2 separate regions of the Homo sapiens genome follow, and region 2 is linked to region 1. Evidence: promoter capture Hi-C in 16 types of primary human blood cells and fetal thymus (Javierre and others, 2016). All regions are on one chromosome and are shown on one strand. Each heading gives the region's core, a stretch centred on a gene start or on the middle of the fragment in contact. The rest is flanking DNA. Distances are from core to core; before and after follow the strand shown. Region 1 holds the start of RPL27A (ribosomal protein L27a). Region 2 holds the start of BTBD10 (BTB domain containing 10).

The links. The method cuts DNA at HindIII sites, captures the fragments that hold promoters and counts their contacts. A CHiCAGO score of 5 or more calls a contact.
Region 2: a contact is called between a fragment that was not itself captured here and the fragment with the promoter of RPL27A in region 1, in 1 of 17 cell types (fetal thymus). The highest score is 5.8, in fetal thymus.

What each region holds. Positions count from the first base shown.
Region 1 is chr11:8,678,642-8,684,041 of GRCh38, forward strand. It overlaps RPL27A (ribosomal protein L27a), which reads left to right and starts at 4,151. Exons shown (of 5, transcript NM_000990.5): 1 at 4,151-4,175; 2 at 4,561-4,624; 3 at 5,365-5,400. The coding sequence starts at 4,173. It overlaps TRIM66 (tripartite motif containing 66), which reads right to left and starts at 4,024. Exons shown (of 25, transcript NM_001388022.1): 1 at 3,960-4,024; 2 at 1,260-1,422; 3 at 979-1,173. RefSeq lists enhancers at 3,581-4,780, 3,644-3,713, 3,914-4,103, 4,430-5,072 and a silencer at 4,224-4,423. The HindIII fragment of the contact is 2,972 bases long and covers 1,573-4,544 here.
Region 2 is chr11:13,463,206-13,469,013 of GRCh38, forward strand. BTBD10 (BTB domain containing 10) reads right to left here and starts at 17. Exons shown (of 9, transcript NM_032320.7): 1 at 1-17. RefSeq lists an enhancer at 197-386. The HindIII fragment of the contact is 1,174 bases long and covers 664-1,837 here.

The DNA.
Region 1 (5,400 bases), core at 2,901-5,400:
AAAAAAAGCAGAAACACTGCTTCTTCCCATCTTGATTAACAGTGCTCTACTTAAAAAAGAAAACGAACATATTTCCAAATGTCCACATCTAAAGATGGAGAGCAAGAAAACAGAGCTGGATTCATTCAGGATGTTGCTGCTATCTGAAGGACTGATGTCGAATTCAGGAACCCAGTGAGGAGAGAAAGGAAGAGGGATCACCAGGGCCTTCTTCAGGGTGATGATGTGTTCCCAAGGCCACCTGGAGAGAGGCCTGGGGCAGCAAAAAATCAGCACACTTGCCTGCCTCACCAGGCTGCTGTCTGGTATCATCTCTTCCGTTCATTTCTGAGGTATTTTCTGAGGCCCTCACACTCTGAGGAAGCCCAGATGCCTGAGATGTCACAAAGCCATGCTGTACTTCAGAAGAGATGTCACAGAGAAGGACACCCCTCAGGAGTCATGGCCAAAGGTCATGTCCCATGTGCCTAGCTGGGAGGGACAGGTCCCCTAATGCCAAATATCTGGCTGCTACTCCACTTTGCAGACAGAAAACTCAGCTTTGTCTGCTCTCTCAGACCTCTGTCAACCTAGGAAAAGTGACACACACTGAACAAACACCACATGAGCTGTGTGTTTAAGTCATGTGGTTGCCTTTTGAAGGAGAGGGAGCTGGATAGAAAACTGGATTGAGCCAGACAACTACCCAGGGTACTCCCTCTACAACCAGATCAAGCCATTGATGAGAAGAATGTTAGGTGAACACAGAACCCAACGGGTAGTGCTGGGTCCACTCTGGGAGGCCTTCTGTTCAGCCGCGTGACCTGAGGGACAGAACGTAGCTCCTCTATAACCAAGGAACCTGGCAAACTATCCAAGAGGAGTGTCTTAGCACCCAGAACCCTACCTCAACCCCTTGCAGTGGTGGTCCTTATTGTAGGCCCCAGCTCTAATACCACTGATGGTTCCCTTTCATTCCCAAGGCCCTGCCCAGCTTACCTCCATTGACAGATCATCTTCCCAAGGTTAGGTTCCAGGTAACCCAGCTCATTTCTTGTGCACTTACTGGCCAGTTTTGATGTCAAATAGACGACGATGTCTTCTTTGATCTCCCCTCCTATTCTCAAGACCCCTCTTCCTGCTGGTCACATGCAGTATGTGATTAAGGTTGATGGAGGGATGAAGACCATAATGCTGTAAGGTCAGAGAGGGACTGGTCACTGAGGTAAAAGCAGGGGATCTGGAGAGAGAAGACTAAAGGCTAGGCCCAGGCTCTGTACCTGACCACCTATGCAGCGTCTGACAAGTCACCCAATTCTTCTGTGCTTCAGTTTTCACACACGTAAAATGAGGCTGGTAGTGCTGTACCTTCAGGCAGATGTATTTTGTAAATTGCCAAGTGCTCTGAAAATGTTGGTTGTTATCCTTGTGGACTGAAGTGTTCTGGGAAGAAGCAGAATATAAAGTTGGCCTTAAAGGTTGAGGAAGATTCAGGACATGTGGTCAGGAAGAGGATGGGCACTCCGGGATGGGAAACAGCATGAGCAAAGGCAAAAATGCAAATGGGATATACCAGGCACGGCTGCAGTAGAAAGCTTGTGTAAGGGAGAGGCTGGGGTAAGGCTGGAAAGGCAAGTGGGCTATATTCTGTTGGTCATAAGGAGCTACCGAACTTTTTGATCAAGTAAAAGAATGAAAGTCATGTTTTCGGAATACTAACGTGGTGGAGGTGTGAAGGATACAGAAATTGGAGGAGGGTTAGAATGCAGGCAGAGTGAACAAAGGAAGGTGTTGTAAACTCCAGTTAAGAGATATGATGGGGGCCTGAATGAAGGCAGGGCACTAAGGCTTAAACAGAGGAAGCACATTGGGGAGATACAGAAACAAAAGGATAGGGTGACAGTGTAGTAGAAGAAGAGAAGGCTTGGGGACAATTTTCATTATCTAGGTGGACAATGGTGCCACTCACCAAGACAGAGAATAAAGGAGAAGGCACCAGTGAGCAGTGCAGATTGAGTTCTTTGGATATGTTTACTTTGTCTGTAGAATGTCCAAGGAATACTAACCAGTAATTAAGTGACCATATGGGTGTGGAGCTCAGCAATAAGGATGTGAATTGAAGCCACCCAAGAAGACCATGTACTGTGAAAAGATAAGGACAAGGACAGAAGGCTGAGGAACATCAACATTCAAATGGTGGACAACGCTGGATGGAAGAACCTGAAAAGAAGACTGAAAAGTGACCAAAGAGTAGGAGGAAGGCAAGACTTTTTCTAGAAAAAGACGCCAACAGATTAAAGTACAACAGAAAGAACAAGTGATATGAAGAATAGGAAGAGTCCAATTTGGCAATTCGTTCATTAATGACATTAGTAAGAGCAATTTCACTGAAGTCACAGGCTGTGAGCTAGACCGCAGTGAACAATGGATGGGAAGGTGCAAATGGGCAGGATTTGTAGACTACTCTTTTGGGGAGCTTGGCTGTAAGGGCAAGGACATGGGAGAATTTTGGAATTTTTTTTTTTTTTTTTGAGACGGAGTCTCGTTCTGTCGCCCAGGCTGCAGTGCAGTGGCGCGATCTCGGTTCACTACAAGCTCCGCCTCCCGGGTTCACGCCATTCTCCTGCCTCAGCCTCCCGAGTAGCTGGGACTACAGGCGCCCACCACCACGCCCATCTAATTTTTTGTATTTTTAGTAGAGACGGGGTTTCACCGTGTTAGCCAGGATGGTCTCGATCTCCTGACCTCGTGATCCGCCCGCCTCGGCCTTCCAAAGTGCTGGGATTACAGAAGTAAGCCACCACGCCCGGCCAGAATTTTGGATATTTTAGCTAAAATATATTTTAGCTGAAGGGGGCAAGACAAAGAAAAATAAATAAATACACGCTCACACATACACACAGAGAATAACTGAGGGGATGGGATTTTAAAAATTTATTTCATTTTTCCCATGGGATCTATTAATAGACTAGCGAGGGGATGGGATCTTGAACACTGGTTGAAGGAACCGACTTAAGAGCGAAGACATGCTGCTATTAGCGAAGACAGGGAGGTGAGGGTAAGTTCATTTATTCACTCAACAATCACTAGTTGAGTGTGGATTAAAAAAAACAGTCCTTGACCACATAAGGAATTAGGTCTAGTAGGGAAGACAAACGTAGGTCAATAAATTACATAAGGGTTATACTAGATTGTGTGGTGGTACAGGTGGGGAAGCGAGCAACTGTCTGCATTGTGTCCAGGAAAGGGTCACAGGCGTGTTATGTAGATTCTGGAGAAAATTCAAAAATAGCATTTATTTTTACTTATTTACTTTTGTATGTGGAGACGAGGGTCTCACTATGTTGCCCAGGCTGGTGTTGAACTACTCGCCTCAAGAAATCCTCCCGCCTCGACCTCCCAAAGTGTTGGGACTACAGGTGTGAGCCACCGCGCCTGGCCTAAATGTGGCATTTAGAAAAAGTATTTACAACATCTGCATTAAAAGGACCATAAAGCAACCAGGCATCTAAGTCCCTGAAGCAATTTAAGTTGCTCAAACTTGAGAGGACAACCAAATGATAGCAAAAGGGCAAAAGAGAAAGGAAGCTGCAGTGCCCACTCAGAAGTGTGAGAGCGGGAGAAGGCATTTCGGGAGCCGCCCGAGCTTCAGGAAACCGAGCGAGACACCAGGTGGGCACACTGAGGATTAAAGAGGGCCTCGCGGTTCCGCACTGCGGCCGGGAGACAAACCAGTAGCCACTATCACCAGCCCCGGGCAGACCACTAAGAACTGTGGAGGTGCGCGGGGCGGCTCAGGGCTGGCGCATTTGGTGAGGAGCTCAGACAACGAGGCCCTTAGGGTCGGCTTAGGCGGTTCCCTGACCAAGGCGCCAGAAAAGGGCCTGGCTCAAGCAAGCACGGGCGGCGTGCAGTACAGCACACCTAGCCCCGATTCTTCAACAGTTCTCGCCCTCCGAGCCTAGCACAACGAGCCTCACCGAAACCGTACACCGCCACCAGGACACTCCGTGATGGGGGATCACCACCCTCAGAAAGAGGAAGCGACTAGCAGGCGCGCAATCCCGCGAGACCAGGAGGCCCCGCCCGAAGCCCGGCCTCTGTGACCGGAAGTGAGGCGTTTTGCCCCGCCCCCGTGGCCGATACCTCGCGAGACTTGGCGAAGGCCTTCCTTTTTCGTCTGGGCTGCCAACATGGTAGGTGTTTCGTTTCTTGCCTCCTCTTCCTTGCCGGCGGAGACCCCTAAGCTGTATTCCCATTGCCCCTAGTCATCCACTCCCTACCATGGTCGGGGCTTCCAGGCTGCGCATGGCCGCCTGCGGGGCAGGGTGGCCGGCGCGGGCCCGGGGCGGGGCTCCCGGAGCCGTGTGTTAGGCCCGCGGTTCGGATCTCTAGGACACGCGGGCCCCTGCGCTACCGTGGTGAGACCTCACGGCCCTGAGCGGATCGGTACCCTCAGCTTTCCCAAACGCTCCAGAAGTTAGGTCTTTGACCCACAGGCTTACAGGACCATCTCGGCTGGCGGGCATCGCCCCCTGCCCCTAATTCCTTAGGCCTTACCACCAAGCTTTTTCCACACAGCCATCCAGACTGAGGAAGACCCGGAAACTTAGGGGCCACGTGAGCCACGGCCACGGCCGCATAGGTAAGTGCCGGCTTCCCCTCGGGGTGGGCCTTGGGCTCTCTTCGGGTGCTTAGCTAGTCTGGAGATCGGTAGCCTATAAGTGGGTTAGAATAAGACCTTTTTGTGGTCAAGTTGCACAGCTGTTGATTTTTTTCTGACGATCCTCTAGTATTCCAGTTCTAAGGAATTTCACATCAGTGGGGTAATAGGAATTGAGCAGGCACGGTATTGGGTTAGTTGAAGACATGGAGTACTGTGGGAATGCTGTGATGTGGAACCTGAAAAGATGTTTCACCCGGAATCCTAAAGTAATCGCATTGCTGAAAACCGGCATCGGTAGGGTGGGAACAGCGTAAGCGGGACACAGAAGTCTGGGAAACACTCTGCTTTTGTGCGAGGAAGTATTGAGATGCATGAGAAGGCTGTGTGGTGCATGTAGCTTTTTTGTGTGTGTGTGAGACTGATCACTGTCGCCCAGGCTGGAGTGCAGTGGCGAAATCTCGGCTCACTGCAACCCCTGCCTGCCGGGCTCAAGCGATTCTCCTGCCTCAGCCTCCCGAGTAGCTGATATTACAGGTGTGCGCCACGACGCCCGGCTAATTCTTTTTCTATTTTTAGTAGAGTCGGGGGTTTCTCCGTGTTGGCCAGGCTGGTCTCGAACTCCTGACCTCAGGTGATCTACCCCCCCTCGTCCTCCTAAAATGCTGGGATTACAGGCATGAGCCATCACACCGGCCCCACGTAGCTTTGTATTCCTGCAGGCAAGCACCGGAAGCACCCCGGCGGCCGCGGTAATG
Region 2 (5,808 bases), core at 1-2,500, 4.8 Mb after region 1:
GCCACTGAGGCGGCTGCGCGTAGCGGAGCCGCCCCGGCAGGTTGCAGGCCGGCTCCTCAGCCTCTTACCGCGAGAGCTCACAATGCGAAGAGGCGAGGCCAGCAGCGTTCTCGCGAGAACGGTGCTCTCCGCCCAGGGGTGGGCGGGGCACCGAAGGAGAAGGCAGTTGAGGGCGCGGCGGCCACGGGTGGGATCTCAGGCGCGTGGAGAGGAAGGCGCCGCGCGACCTCTCCTCACAGACATCAGCTCGGGTCAACCGCGGGCCTCGAGCCCGAGTGGCTGAGGGCTGTTACCTTCAAACCTTTGAATCCCACGTTTTCCCCTTGACTTCCTGTCACCGTTAGAGAAAAGTGGACAGCGTCTCGGTCACAGAGTTGGAGAAATAGTGCAGGGACTCTTCAGGGAGAGCGTTTTCCTCATCAAAGCAAACTGCAAAATCGCTTCTGCCGGCGTGGACCTGATGAGAGTCGGTCGTCGTGAGGGACACCCTCTGTTCCCTAACGTCCCCCGCTGCTTATTTTTAAACGCTCGGTTGGCGGGAACCCCTGTGCCAGCTGAAACTCCTTCAGTTTGGCCGCCTAGGAAACACCGAGAGTCACCTACATGGGCTGGCTGGGCAATAAAAACGGGAAAAAATGTAAAAGACACAGTCTCCGCCTTCGAAGCTTACACCCCCGGGGCAAGACCTACAGGAAAATAGATAATCCCATTATTCTCTGATAAAAGCCGAGCTGCTTGCCATGAGCTCTGGGAGCAGACGGGGAGGCCTTGTTGAGAAAGCCTTCACCTGGGAGTGACAATTGCGCTGAATCTTAAGCATAAGTAAGTTCTCCAGTTTAGGGAAGAGAGGGAAGGGCATTGCAAGGAGAGGAAGCAAAGAGGAAGAGGACCTGGTTTGAGTAATTGGGTATGAAAACAGATATTGCAGCAAGAACTTTGTTGAAAAACCTTTAACCACTGTTTAGTTCGGATGAGAACATTCCCAGGCTCCTACGTGTGATACGCAAAGTATTTTCCAAATCAGTGTTTATGCTAAGAAGATGAGCAGTTGAGCTGGACAATTATAAGATAACTTCATCTTTCTCCTGTAAGGACACTTAAATATCAGAAACCTAAGAGAAACGGGTTATTGTCGTAATTCACTAAGTTATTATAGCCAACATTTTGCTAAATTGGAAATTGCCAATAATTTCAAGTTGTCTACATAAGAGCAATCTAATAGGAATTTTGTGATACAGTTTCTCAGAGAAACTCTGAGAAAATTCTCAGGCAAAAAACAAAAACGTCATCAGTCCTGATTTATTATCAAAATTTTCTCCTATAAGCTCTGCTCAGAAGAAGTCATTCTGTAGTCCAAGTTAGGGCTAATGAGGAGCCATACTCTTACATCAAAATAGAAGCTGTCCTTTTCTAAAGAAAGACTCTGGTATTTTGCTGTAGTTTCCACTCACCTTCCTTTGGACACATTATTTTCATATTACATATAAAAATATGTATACTATATGAAAAATACTATGTATACTATAGTTTTATTTGGCTTACCATACTCTCCCTACGAATAAGCCCAACACTTAGGAGGAAAACAAAAAAGTTATTCTAACCCTGCTGATACGGTTTGGATCTATGTCCCCACCTGACCTCTCATGTGGAATTGTAATCCCCAGTGTTGGAGGTCGTTGGATCATGGGGGCAGATTTCCCTGTTTTTGCCATTCTGGTGATAGTGAGTTCTGGTGAAATCTGTTCTTTAAAAGTGTGTGGCGCCCCCCCACCCCCGCCCCACTCCTCCCACCATATAAGACGTGCCTGCTGTACCTTGGCTTTCTGCCATGATTGTAAGCTTCCTGAGGCCTCCCCAGAAGCCCAGCAGAAGCCGTCGGACTTCCTGTACAGCCTGCGGAGCCGTGAGCCAGTTAAACCTCTTTGTTTTATAGCAGTGCAAGAATGGACTAATGCACCTGCCATAGGCCAATTGGGTGTTCTGTTAAGCATAATTTCACATCAAGTTCTTGGAATTTTCCAGGAAGCATTAGAAGAATCATATGAATGAAAGACTTCAGGCAAAATATGGAAACTTTGTTCCATGCTGGAATCTGTTCAAACCATCATATCCTACTTGGATGGGTCCTGGAGCTCATTTCATTCTGCTGTTCTTCAAAAACAAAAGAGAATGGGAGTTGGGAGAAAATAGAAAATCGAATAAAGTTTCTACTGTTCTTTGCTTTAAAAGAAAATTAATCGGCCGGGTTCGGAGGCTCGCGCCTGTAATCCCAGCATTTTGAAAGGTCGAGGCGGGCAGATCACGGGGTCAGGAGATCCAGACCATCCTGGCTAACATGGTGAAACCCCGTCTCTACTAAAAATACAGAAAATTACCCGGGGGTGGTGGCAGGCGCTTGTGGTCCCAGCTACTTGGGAGGCTGAGGCAGGAGAATGGTGTGAATCCGGGAAGCGGAGCTTGCAGTGAGCAGAGCTTGTGCCACTGCACTCCAGCCTGGGCGACAGAGCGAGACTCCGTTTCAAAAAAAAAAAAAGAGATAATTAACCTTTCAAATATTAAGGTAGTAGCACAGTAGCACTGGTAACAGTTATACATTTGGTAGGTAATGCCATAGATTTAGATAATCACAAATCTGCTCTACACGATAATTTGTAAATGCTAGCTGACTGCATAGGCTAAGGTTCAGAACTTTAATGAAAGTCTTTCTTCCACACACCAAAGAGGTCCATACAGAAAGAGAAGTTTCATATAGTAGCAGTGAACAAACAAGGTCGTTTGGTAGTTTGTGTTATAGCATGCTAAGGCAATATTGTTTCAAAGCAGATAAGACCACAGACCCAGAATCCTATTTAATTTTTAAAACCTGGAATTTCTTTGTACTACTAAGTTTGAGCACTGCCATCTAATGGCAGGAACAGGAAAATCACATACACGCAAAAATAACTCGATCCCTATTCAGCAAATACATTTATTAATCAAGCCCCTGTGTAAGAATACCAGAAGAGCTGGGCACTGTGGCACGTGCCTATAATCTCAGCACTTTGGGAGGCGGGAGGATCACTTGACAGGAGTTCGAGACTAGCCTGGGCAACATAGCAAGACTTCTCTACAAAACTGAAAAAAATAAAAATACTAAGAGATACAGATAGTATTATACATATTCTGACAAAATGAGATGTATAATTAAATAACAAAAGGAAAACAAGTTAGGTCAAAGATAGAAATAGTGTGTTATGGGAGGACAGAGATGAAGATTACTCTTTTTTTTTTTTCTTTTTTGAGATGGAGTCTCGCTCTGTTGCCCGGGCTGGAGTGCAGTAGTGCAATCTTGGCTCACTGCAACCTCTGCCTCCCTGGTTCAAGCAATTCTCCTGCCTCAGCATCCCGAGTAGCTGGGATTACAGGCATGTGCCACCACGCCCGCCTAAATTTTTGTATTTTTAGTAGAGATGGGGGTTTCACTGTGCTGGCCAGGCTGGTCTCGAACTCCTGACCTCAGGTGATCCACCTGCCTTGGCCTCCCAAAGTGCCGGGATTACAGGCGTGAGCCACCGCACCCAGACATAAGATTACTTATTTTTATTTTTTCTTTTTCTTTTTTTTTTTTTTTAAGAACACCACCTTTAAGGAGAGCTAGCTTGTAAGCTCCTTTTTTCAGGGGCATGGGCCTTCTCATTATCACTTCAATGGGAGAGAGCTGATGTATTCCAAGCAGGGTAGAATTTAAGCTAAGCAAATGAAAGAGTCTTAGGCCAAGGAAGGTAAGACGTTTCTGTAAGCTTTGCCAATTGATTTTGTATTTTCCATTTGTGCATCCCACCAGTCTGGAAGACTGAGGGTAGTATACACAATGGAAATGCTAATTCATCTCATCTCAATCAGCTTTCACCACACAACATTTCTATAAACATTTTATAAACTCATAATTTTTTTCAATTTTCTTTCTTTCCTCAATTTTCTATATCCATTCAGTTTTATCGTTTTTTAAATCTCTTCAACTTAAAACAACCTTTAAAAACCTCTGGACAAAATTACTTTCTTTTTAACAAAAAAACATATTCTCATGCCTCCTTCATAATCCTTTCTACCAAAAATTCATCCTATTTTTCTTATACACTCTGTATACACAATTGTTTCTCTTATATCTAGTAATTTTAATTACATTTGTTAATTACAATTTTAACTCTTAGTAACCTTAATTTCTAGTGAAAAACCTAGAAAGTAATTTCAAACTGTTTTATATCAGTAGTTGTAGATAAATTTTTTAATTAACATATAAATATAATTAGTTTTTCTATACCACATAAAAACAAGATGCTAAAATATACAAACTTAAACTTATGTTTAGAGATTAATAGTTCAGTATTTTAACTTAGAAATAATATTTCAGTATTTTAACTTAGAAGTGACTCTGACATCTTATGCTTATCTATTAATTTAATACAGCATAACTTTAAAATAACACAGGAATTCTCTCTAATGTCTTCCCCAGTCATCCTGGGTCCCAAGTACCCACATGGCAACGAGGATGGCTGTAAAGGGTGGAGCTCATCTGGGTCCTGAATTTACATACCAGGTCTAGAGCTTAGGAGAGAGGGCAGAGCTATGAAGAGGATGCCTGGAGGGTCCGACCCTACCCAACATAACCAGGAGGCATAGCTTGGCCAGGGAGGATACGTTGGGTTTGCCCTACACCTGACAGCCTAGACACTGTGGACATATGTATGTCTTCAGGCTTCACCAGGGCCACTTGTCTAGATCCCAGAATCTAAAGGCTCAAACCAAAGATATAAGCTCACAGTAAGATGTGTTCAAGGCTTCAGGGAAGCCCAACAGCCAGCCCTCAGAGCTTTGGCTCCAAGACAAATCAAACATCAAAAATATCACAGAAATGGCCAGGCATAGCATGGCCATTATAAGCTTATGCTTATATGACTTATGCTTATAATCCCAGCATTTTGGGAGGCAAAAGTGGAAGCATCACTTGAGTCCAGGTTTTGAGGCCAGCCTAGGCAAAATAGGGATACCCTGTCTCTACAAAAAATTTAAAAATTAGCCAGGCATGGTGACACACACCTGTAGTTCTAGCTACTTGGGTGGCTGAGGCAGGAGGATTGCTTGAGCACAGGAGTTCAAGGCTGTAGTGAGCTATGATTGTGCCACTGCACTCCAGCCCAGGCAACAGAGTAGGACCCTGTCTCAAAAAAAAAAAGAAAGAAAGAAAAGAAAAAAAATTCACAGAAGCAACAGTTTTTTTGTATGTGTCTTTTTTTTTTTTTTTTTTTATAGAGACAAAGTTTCACTATGTTGCCCAGGCTGTTATCAAACTTCCTGGCTCAAGCCATCCTCCTGCCTTGACCTCCCAAAGTGCTGAGATTATAGGTGCTAACCACAGTGTTTGGTCACCAAACTCTGTTACCTTAAGACATCTAGTGGAAACAGTATAAATATGTCTCACCAAGAGACCTAGGTGAAAATGTCTGAATTATATTTAATACAATTCTGAAGAAATTCTAATTTTATTTTACCAACATTTTAAAAACTAGTTTTAATTACCAGTGATTACTAAAGTCACGTGAACTTCAAAAGCATTTGGGCTTATTTGCTTAATAAGTGCTCATTTATTCATAAATCAATTTGGCACCATGTAGACAATATACAAACATAGGCATGTACCCATTGAGGAGAGCAAAATCACGTGGTGATCATTGAACAGGCCCCGGAGACAAAAACTCCTTATCTGAGGAATTTAGAAGGGAGCAAAGACCACCTGGTGACTATCAAGCAGGCCATCCGGAGGCAAAACTC